2 separate regions of the Homo sapiens genome follow, and region 1 is linked to region 2. Evidence: promoter capture Hi-C in human tissues and cell types (Jung and others, 2019). All regions are on one chromosome and are shown on one strand. Each heading gives the region's core, a stretch centred on a gene start or on the middle of the fragment in contact. The rest is flanking DNA. Distances are from core to core; before and after follow the strand shown.

Evidence for each region. Contacts are between HindIII fragments. The study calls those that stand out against the background at their distance.
Region 1: a fragment that was not itself captured here is called in contact with the fragment with the promoter of BANP in region 2 in 1 of the 25 tissues and cell types used here (dorsolateral prefrontal cortex).

The regions. Positions count from the first base shown.
Region 1 is chr16:88,094,641-88,099,792 of GRCh38, forward strand. LOC400553 (a long non-coding RNA gene) reads right to left here. Exons shown (of 2, transcript NR_120310.1): 2 at 4,769-4,890. Among named protein-coding and RNA genes, the nearest start is that of LINC02182, 97 kb to the right of the region's middle. The HindIII fragment of the contact is 3,897 bases long and covers 1-3,270 here.
Region 2 is chr16:87,948,753-87,953,801 of GRCh38, forward strand. It overlaps BANP (BTG3 associated nuclear protein), which reads left to right and starts at 2,682. Exons shown (of 14, transcript NM_001386991.1): 1 at 2,682-2,763. RefSeq lists enhancers at 2,038-2,347, 2,607-3,249 and silencers at 2,538-2,837, 2,848-2,967, 2,998-3,057, 3,078-3,177. The HindIII fragment of the contact is 14,887 bases long and covers 1-5,049 here.

The DNA.
Region 1 (5,152 bases), core at 72-2,571, 140 kb after region 2:
AGCGCAGCCCTGACGCCTCCAGACACCCCTTCTTGCCGATGCCCTTTTCTAGCTTGATCTTGATGGTTCCTAGAGCCTGGGGGTCAAGTGTTCCCTGGCTCGCTTCCTGTAACATCAACTGGAACTTTTCAATGTGGTCTAAAAATAATCCCACCAGCACTTTGGGAGGCCAAGGCAGGAGGATCGCTTGAGGTCAGAAGTTCGAGTCCAGCCCGGGCCACGTAGCAAAACCTCACCTCTACTAAAAAAAAAAAAAAAAAAAAAAAAAAATTCAGCTGTGTGTGGTGGCTCACGCCTGGAGTCCTCGGAAAGCTAAGGCAGGAGGATCACTTGAGCCCAGGAAGTGGACACTGCAGTAAGCTACGATAGCAACATTGCACTCCAGCCTGGTGGACAGAGCAGACTCTGTCTCCATCATCATCATCATCATCATCATCATCATCATCATCATCATCTCTCAAGCATCAATAAGACCTTATTCTATAATGATGATGGTCACACAACTCTGAATAAAGACTAGTGAATTGTGCACTTCACATAGGTGAAATGTATAGTATATTAATTATATCCAAGAAAGCTGTTTATTTCTAAAGGGATTTATCATTCTAATAACAAAAATAAATGATAATAGTGTGACTCTTTGGCACTTTCATTTTTTTTTTTTTTCTGTTTGCTCCTTTGATCATCCAGCACATGGGTGGGAGAAGGCTGGGTTTCACTATCATCTCTGCCTTGCCAGTGGATGAAGCCCAAACCCCAGGTGGGAAGTGCTGGGGTGGAGACTTCAATCCAGGGACTCTGCCCAGGGCCTGTCCCATGTTTTCATGTCAGCTGGCATTTCGTCATCTTAGCCTGATCAGTCCTGTCTAAACTGGTCATTCTTGGGTTGAATCATTGGAATCCCTTTGGCCCTGTCACCGAATCCCCCTCTGGGACAATGCTGAGACAGCTCTGTGGCCTCCAAGATGAACCCACTGACCCACGCCTCCTGGGGTTTATCATCTTCCTACATTGACTCAGGGCTGATGTGTGTGGCCCGTGGAACATGGCAGAGCTGACAGTGTGTAACTTCCATGACTGAGCTGTACAAGGCAACATAGCTTCTGTCTTGGTCTCTCAGGCCATCCACTCCGAGGGGAGCCAGCCCCCATGCTGTGATATTCAAGTGGCCTCATGGCAGGGTCCATTTGGAGAGAACTGAGTTCTGGCCAGCAGCACCACTGGCCAGTGTGTGATGGAGTGACCTAGGAGTGACCTGGGAAGGCCAGCCCCAGTCAGGCCTTCAAATGAGACTGCAACTCCAGCTGATGCAAGACTACAGCTTCAGGAGACTTTCAGGCAAGAATGTTTAATCAAACCCCTCCAGAAATAGGGACTCTTATTCTATCAGCAAGATCATGGCCTGCAGTAATGTGGAAAGTGGCCCAATGAGCTGAATGATCAAGCTAGCAAGCTTTGTAAGGAGGGCACTGAGGGTGGCATATCTTGTACTTTATTTTATTTATTTATTTATTTTAAATAGTAATATTATAAAATAGAGATGGGGTTTTGCCATGTTGCCCAGGCTGGTCTCAAACTTCTAGGTTCAAGCAATCCACCTGCCTTAGCCTCCCAAAGTGTTGGGATTACAGGCATAAGCCACTACACCTGGCCTCTTGCTACTTTTAAATAAAATAAGAGAGGGAAGAGATAAACTAAAGGAAGGGCTGCTAAATATAAAAGAGATGCTTTCTGTCTGAAAACACTTTTTCTCATTCCCGGCCCCTCAAGGTGGCACACAATGCTGAGAATAGGAAACCCAGGGATGCAGGTCATTTAGGGAACAGGACAGGTGATGGTGGCAAGCCTCCCAGATGGCTCCAGTGACCCCCCCAACTCCTGTATTTGTCTGTGTGTGCTCCCCTCCCACACAGCAGGGCTGGTCTGTGTGGTCAGCATAGAGTACGGTGGTGGGCAACATGTGACTTCCCCTTGAGGCTGGATTATAACGGCATTGCAGCCTCCACTTGGCCTGTTGGCTCACTCACTCTAGAAGAAGCTGGCCACCATGCTGTGAGGACATCAGGCAGGCCCTGGAGAGTAACTGGGGCCCTCAGCCAATAGCCAGCACCAGCCCACCCACCTCGTGAGGGAGCCACCAGCCCCAGTCTAGCCTTCAGGTGATGCACCCCAAGCTGACATAAGACCACATGAGAGACCCTAAGGAAAACCGCCCTGCTGAGCACTTCCCACTTTCCTGGCTAACAGTCTGTGAGGGATAAAAAGTGATTTATGCTCTTTAAGCCATTAAGTTTTGGGTGTGTAGCAACACAGCAACAGATATAAAATATAGCAGCATATAAAAGACCTGCACAGAATTCCTATGGAAGTGGGGATGCACCATGGATTTGGACCAGGGACAGACAATATCATCTGTTTTTCCTCCCTGAAACCCTTCTTAATGATCCTGGAGTCAGGGCACTCCTATCAGAATCAATGACCTGCTTTGGGTTTTAATTCTAACCAGCACTGGCGTGTCCCCTCCAACATGCAAGGTATGAGAAGGACTTGCTTTTGGTTACTTAAACATGCCAGGCCATCTGACAACCTCACTAATGACAACCACTTTGCAATCTCACTGATTCTCACTTGGGTGGCCAGTGTTTGACTGGTGACTCTTCTAAAAAGTTGGACATGCCGTTACCCAGGGGTGTGCTCCGTGTCTGCCCCGTGGAGGAAATGCTTTGTCCAAAATGCCTAATCAGAGTCCTAGAGCCAAACCAGGGTGTCAGCCTTGGCTGAGCCCTGGAGACACCTGGGAGCTCTGAACATGCAGCTGCCCACCCCACCCCACCCCGGGAGCTGCTGGGAGCTGGAGAAGGTGGGAAGAGGCCTCCCCAGGGCCCTCAGAGGGTGCACAGCCCTGGAACAACTGGCTCTCAGACTCAGCCTCCAGCGAGGGAGAGGGTGAATTTCTGTCACATGGACCCCCCGGTTTGTGGCACTTTGCTGCAGCAGCCCCAGCACACGGATGTAAAGTGGGTCCGGCATCAGCCCCACAGCCCTTTGTTCCTGCTTCATGGCCCCCAGGAGAGACACCCTGAGCTCCCACTCTCCCACACACACTCGAGGCTGAAAACGCAGGATTTTTATGCCCAGACCTGCTGTTTCTTTCAGTTGTAACTTTTATCTTATGAAAACATTTCTGACCTACTCGAAGGTAGAAGGGCAGGACTCATCACTTCTGCCTCCTCTTTCTGCCCAAGGATAGAAAGAATAAAAGCCAGCCACGTGGTCCCTACAGGAGGACGCCATGTGGTCACTGCTGTCACCAAGAGACTGCACAGGCCCAGCTGTGCATGGGCGCCCTGAGTGTTAACTGGGCTCAGCCATGTCCTCACTTTGATGGTGACACACAGAGGCATCTGCCTGTTAAGCAGGTGGTCCTCCGGGGTCCCCTGAGAGCACAGCCAGGGAACCGGATGCCCACATTTCCTCACTCTCCTCCCATCTTCCCTCCCTCATCTTTCTCCATGCGCTTGAGTGCTTGCTCTGAAATCCAACCTTTAGTGACAATAAAGGAATGAAAAAGAATTCCCTCCACTTAAAGTGGACAGCAAGCCCCTCAATTCCTCTAGGACCCTCTGTCCTTGGTGTAAGTTTGTAAGAAACTTCCAGGAAACGTTGCTTCTATCTTATGTAGATACTTCTGCACAAATGACAGATGTCCACAGGATGTCCAAAGGATGACAGGGGACTCTCCCTGCTGCCCAAAGACATCCTGGCTTCCCTGAGGGTGATGGACCCGCCCAGCTCTCCACTGCCTAGACCCTCCGGCTTTCCTGAGGGTGATGGAGCTGCCCAGCTCCCTGCTGCCCAAAGAACCCCCAGCTTTCCTGAGGGCGATGGAGCTGCCCAGCTCCCCGCTAGATGCCCTGGCTTTCCTGAGGGTGATGGGGCCCTGCCCGAGGACAGCTGCTTTTGTGCCAACTTTCGATATTTCATCTGAGCCGCCAGAGGCTCTAGAAATTGGAATCTACCAATGTCGACCAACACTGGGAGCAGCGTCCTGAGCCCCGAGACAACGTGATCACCCAGAGATCTCTCTTCCCCACCCCACCTTCTTCCTGAGCCATGCACAGAGAGGGTAGACGTTGAACAATGATTAGAAGCAACCCCAGGGTCCCTCCATGGGGTCGAGACCAGGTGACGATGTGCGCCAGGCGCGTTCTCGGAAATGCTGGAGGAATAGGGCCGTCTGGACACGTTGAGAGGTGGGTGGTTCCAGCTCAAACTTCAGGGGGCGCACCGCGGGTCGGGGTGAAAATGGCACTTCTATCTCTAGAGTTCCCCCAGTGGCCAAAAGGTGGACTCAACCCAGATGTCCTTGGGTGGACTGATGCCTGCTTACCCAACATGTGGTCTCTCCCCACCGAGGAGTACGACTCAGCCATAGAGGAATGAGGGCCTCACCCATGCTGCGGTGTGGGCCAGCCTGGAGAACGTCATGGAAGCAGAAGGAGCCAGATGGGAGGACCACACATGGCCAGCTGCATCCCTGTGACATGGCAGAGCAGGTGGGTCTGCGGAGACGGGGGCCCTGGGTGGTTGTCCGGGGCTGGAGGGGATGGGCAGTCATTGGGTGGCCTTTGGGGATGATGAAAACGCTTTGGAAGTAAACAGAGGGCATAGTACAGCATGCGCCTCATGCCACCTACAGTGTCATACTTTAAAACATTAATTTGATGTGCAGTGAGTTTCACCTCAATTTAAAAAACAGGAAGAGAAGTACCAGAGGATGAGAATTGTTTACTCCCTGTGTGCTCTGTGCATGTGAGATGAATGTCACACTCCACACACACTTGCAGACTCCCAGCCGGGTGCCGTTCCTGCCCTTCTGGGGTTGACGACCTGTACAAAGCCCCCAAAAGAATGGGATGGTGTCCCGGCAGCCTGGGGCTTCGAGGGGGGAGGGCGTCGCCCGGGTGGACCCTGCCCCACCCACATGTTCTCGAGGTCAGACCCCTCACTTAGGGGTGGCCGAGGGTGCACCAACTGGCAGCCTGGGTCTCTGTGTTCCGACCACAGCGCTGGGGCCCTTTCTAGAAGCTTCCTGGAAGCGAGAGCCAGTTTTTGTGTAGGCGCGGGGAACGCAGTCCAGAGGCCCCGTAAG
Region 2 (5,049 bases), core at 1,432-3,931:
CTTGAGTCCAGGAGTTCAAGACCAGCTTGGACAACATATTGAGACCTCTGACTCTACAAAAAATAAAAAAAAATCAGGCAATGGTGGTGGTGCATGCCTGCAGTCCCAGCTACTCTGGAGGCTCAAGCGAGAAGATCACTTAAGCCCGAGAGGTAGAGGCTGCAGTGAGCTCTGATTGTACCATCGCACTCCAGCCTGGATGGCAGAGCAAGACCCTGATGCAAACAAAACAAAACAAAACAAAACAAAACAAAACAAAACAAAACAAAACAATCACTAACTGCAGCACAATCATAGTTTTGATTGGCTTAATTTCTGATAATGCCTAGTCAGCAGTGGCCTTCAACAAACCTCACTGTAGCTTGTTGGATGGTCACAGATGGATTCACCTTTGCCCACAAGTTCCTCCTCTTGTCCACTCACACCTGTTCATGACGCCGAGCCCAGCATTGCACAAGGCCTGGGGATAGGGGAAGTGCAGCTCCAGACACGGACTTGGGAATGTTTTGAAACAACAGGAACGACATCACCCTAGGTTTGTGTTTTCAAGCCAGATATTCCGGCGTGGATGCTAAGAATTCTTACATGGGCAAGTATTAATATTTGAATGCAGCCGTGATTGAGGTGGAGGTGGAGACAAAAGGCGTGCGTCCCTAGAACATGTTTTGTCCCCACTGCCGGAGGGAATATTCTGTGTCAGCTATCGCACGCACCCTTTCCCTCCATGTGAGTGGACTCCACACTCTAAGCAAGGCGCTCTGGACTGCAAACTCAGCTTGTGCCTCTCTCCAGCCCTGTGGCCTCGCTGGACAATTTTTCTAATCTCTTTGGAGCTGATCTTCATGTTGAAAAAGGACAAGTCCCATCTTCAGATCAACACCTGTCCCAGCGCTGCCATTTTGCCAAGGCTCCTCCTTGGAGTGTTTGTAAGGCACTTTTGCCACGAAGTAACCCAGCCACCAGCCTCAGTGGAACCTCCAAGCCTAATTCTGGAGGAGACTTTAACTCGGTAAGGTTGCCCAAGGTCGCATAGCCCATGACTGCGCTGAATCCTGTTTTTATTATTGGCAAAAGGGAGTTGGGCAGGAAATTCAAGGTAAAGCATTTTGTTTTTCTTTCTTTCTTTTTTTTTTTTTTTTTCTTGAGACGGAGTCTCGTTCTGCTGCCCAGGCTGGAGTCCAGTGGCGCCATCTCGGCTCACTGCAAGCTCCGCCTCCCGGGTTCACGCCATTCTCCCGCCTCAGCCTCCCGAGTAGCTGGGACTACAGGCGCCTGCCACCGCGCCGGGCTAATTTTTTGTATTTTTAGTAGAGACGGGGTTTCACCGTGTTAGCCAGGATGGTCTCGATCTCCTGACCTCGTGATCCACCCGCCTCGGCCTCCCAAAGTGCTGGGATTACAGGCGTGAGCCGCCGCGCCCGGCCAGCATTTTCTTTTTCCCAGTGAAAATAGCTGCCTCGCCCTGTGTTTGGGAGCTCAAAGGCATTCTTGCTCATTGCAAATAATTGAGGAAACAGAGGCGAGTATAAAGAAGAAAATGAAAGGCAAGGTAATCCTAGATTAGCAGAGGGAGATAACCAGGAATGACATTTCTGGGAACTGCGCTATGGTTTGGGAATTTTTTCCTGTGATTACCCACAAACGCACATTTGCACATTTATTCTACGTGTGCACATTCACGTCATCACTTTTTTTTTTTTTGAGACAGAGTCTCGCTCTGTCGCCAGGCTGGAGTGCAGTGGCGCGATCTCGGCTCACTGCAACCTCTGACTCGCGGGCTCAAGCGATTCTCCTGCCTCAGCCTCCCGAGTAGTTGGGATTACAAGGCGCCCGCCACCACGCCCGGCATAATTTTGTATTTTTAGTAGAGACAGGGTTTCGCCATGTTGGCCAGGCTGGTCGCGAACCCTTTACCTCAGGTGTTCCGCCCGCCTTGGCCTCCCACAGGGCTGAGATTACAGGCGTGATCCACCGTGCCCGGCCGCCATCACTTATTTATATTATGTGTTACCTATAGGACTTATCTAAGACCATAATCACTGCCGCGTGTGCTAAGTCCCGCGCGCGTGCACTCAGGCCCCTCTGGATAGACACTGGGGACCCCTGACCACTTATGTCAGGGAAAACGCCACCAAGCGCTCCGGAACCTCAGGGCAGGACCCGCCGCAGCAGCAGGTAGGACCCGCTGGGGGCGCACAGCCCACCTGAGACATCGTAACTACAAGTCCCAGCAACCCTTGGTGCGGGGACAGGACGGGCCACCGGAGTCCGGAGAGACTACAAGTCCCGGCAGGCATGGCCCAGACGCAGGGACTACGAGTCCCCGAATGCATGGCTCCCAGCTTGCGCAGGGCACCCTGGGAGGTGTAGTAGTTGAGGGAGCTAATGCGTATTCATTCCGTCTCAAAGAAGATGCAAATTCCTCAGACCGTCCACTGAGGTGATTGTTCTCACGCAGGCCATGGGCGTGGGCGAAAAACGGGGGGAAAAAAGCCCTGGGAAGCCGGTACCGTCGCGGAAGAAGGCCGCCTGCGCATGCTCACCAGGAGGCCGAGCGGGAAAAGCGCGCGCAGCTGGCCTCACTGCCACAGGGGTGCCCCGCCCCCGGGCCCGCGCGCCCAGTGAGCCTGCGCGGAGGGCGGGGGCCGAGCGTCGCGGGGAGGGGCTCGCGGCGCCTGCGCAGAGCGGCGGCTTCTCTCGCGAGGACGGACGCCATTATCGCATCTCCCCGACAAACACCACGAGAATTCCGCAGCCCACACGGTAATTGCAGCTCCCGCAGCCGGTCGCGCCTCCGCCTCCCCCTTCCCGCGGGGCGAGAGCGAGAGCGAGATCTCCCTCCTCCCTCCTCCTCCCGCCCGCCGGGCCGCCCGCGCCGCAGCCCCGCCGCCGCCAACCGCCCGGGCCGGGCGATCGCCCCCCGGGCCCCGCTCCCCGTCCCCGGCCGCGCCCCGGAAGAGGGGCTCCCGCTTCCTCGCTTCCGCACCCCCGGCCCCACCGCGCCCGGCGTCCGTTGAGCCGCGGCTGCCGCAGCCCGGCCCGGGGGCCTCGCGCTCCCGACCTCTGTCCCGGGCCTCGCCCCGCGGGAAGGACCCGGAGCCACGGCGGGGAGACTGGAAAGGCCTAGAACCGCGCCCGGGCTCCTCTGGGGCCCGAAGTCTCCCAAGGGGGTCGCTCCTGCCAGCCAGGCGGGAGCGACAGGCATCGTTTTTGTGCCTCCTCCGTGGCTGTGGACCGGAGCCCCATAGCCCAGGACTTGCACACGCAAGGGGCGCTCTCGGGGACCGCAGACCTCGGCGACGACCCCAGCCCGTCCCCCGAGGGGCCCCGATGAACGAGGACCTCGGGGTGCCCCCTCCCCAGCACGTTTGTGCGATTTCTGTGATCTAGTCCTTAAGGAAGGTGGCCGTTTTCTTTTTCCCCCCTAGGATGCAGAAAGTAGATGACATTCCATCCACACTGTGTGAGCAAATTGGAGAGATTGCCTTGATAGAGGACTGATGTTTTTCACTGATGAGATGGTAGGGGTTGTCTTGCTATTGGAGAAATACATCATCCCTGAAGAACTGTGAGCAAGTGGAGCGAGTGTGGGCTTTGAAGGGTAGCGAGCTTGCACCCTGACCGGGGAGGGCCCGGGTCACACAGTTGTTGATGTGGAACAGGTAATTGCCCTGTTTGGAGTTGCCTGTTCTGCCCAGGAATGTACTCCAGGGCCTGATGGCGATGCTGGAACTCGCACTACAGTAAATAATTGATAAGAGGAGGCAGTTGTAGGGTTCACTTTTAGCTGGAAGTTCTTAGGGGACAGAAAAATAACTTGGAGTAGTGAGTGGTTCTGAGTAAGCTCAGGAAACGTCAAATAAAAACTGGATCTGGTCATTTAACACGCAGCTCGCAGATATCCAGTGCTAGAAGAAAACACCAAAACGCGGTAAAATTCTGTATGTGGGTCCACTTCCCGTGTCTGGCGATTAAAATAAGAATATATTCTTGCGATGTTGGATTCTGTCATCATTGGCGTTAATATTTTTATTTTTTTGGAGATAGGGTTTCACTCGGTCCCCGAGACTGGAATGCAGTATCGTGATCTTGGCTCACTGCAGCCTCGGCCTCCCTGGCTCAAGTGATCCTCCCACCGCAGCCTCCTGAGTAGCTCGGACCACAGACGCCACCACCCCGGCTAATTTTTGTATTTTTCGTAGAGAGGGGGTTTCGCCTTGTTGTCCAGCCTGGGGCTTTAATCTTTTTAAAAAAGAGCTTCCATTTGTGATTCCACGCTGCGTGGGGGCAGCTCAACATCTCGGGTGCTTCATCATGACCCAGGAGGCAGAGGCTGCGTCCACTTTATAGATGAGGTGACTAGGCCCGCAGACACTAAGGGACTTGCTCAGATTTACAGAGCCAGGGTTCGAATTCAGTCTGTCTGAAGCCTATGTTCTTAAAAAAAAAAGCCCATATATTTAGTATTTTAATCAATATAATGTATACAATAGGAACGTCAATGAAAGACTTACAATGAAAAGCAATGGTCCCCTGCCCCACCTCTCAGCCCCGTTCTTCAAAGAGGTTTACATCTTGAGTGGTTTCTTTAGGTCATTCTCCACAGCTCTGAGTAAGCTGATCCTTTTTATTTTTTTCTTGAGATAGGATCCCCTGATGTTGCCCAGGCCGTACTCGAACTCCTGAGCTCAAGTGATCCTCAGCCTCCTTAGTAGCCGCTAATACAGGTGTGAGTGACTGCACCTAGCTCTAAGCTGATATTTTGTATTACACAGCCTTGTCTTTCTATTACGATGGGGTGATGGAGCCCTTCTGTCATATCCCAACTCTTCTATCCCCTGGACTGTCTGTGTTAGGCCTATGCAAATACTGTTCTCTTCACGGACAAATTGAGTGTTTCCCTTCCTGTACAGCGTGGATTTTTCTGTTAGTCATGGCTTTTCTCTTGGCACTTTCTGTTCCCATCGACTCCTTACATTGTTTTAAATTCTCAAGGATAGTGTCAGGTCCCCTTTCTCCTTCAGCCCCTGTCCTTCTCATCTGGATGGG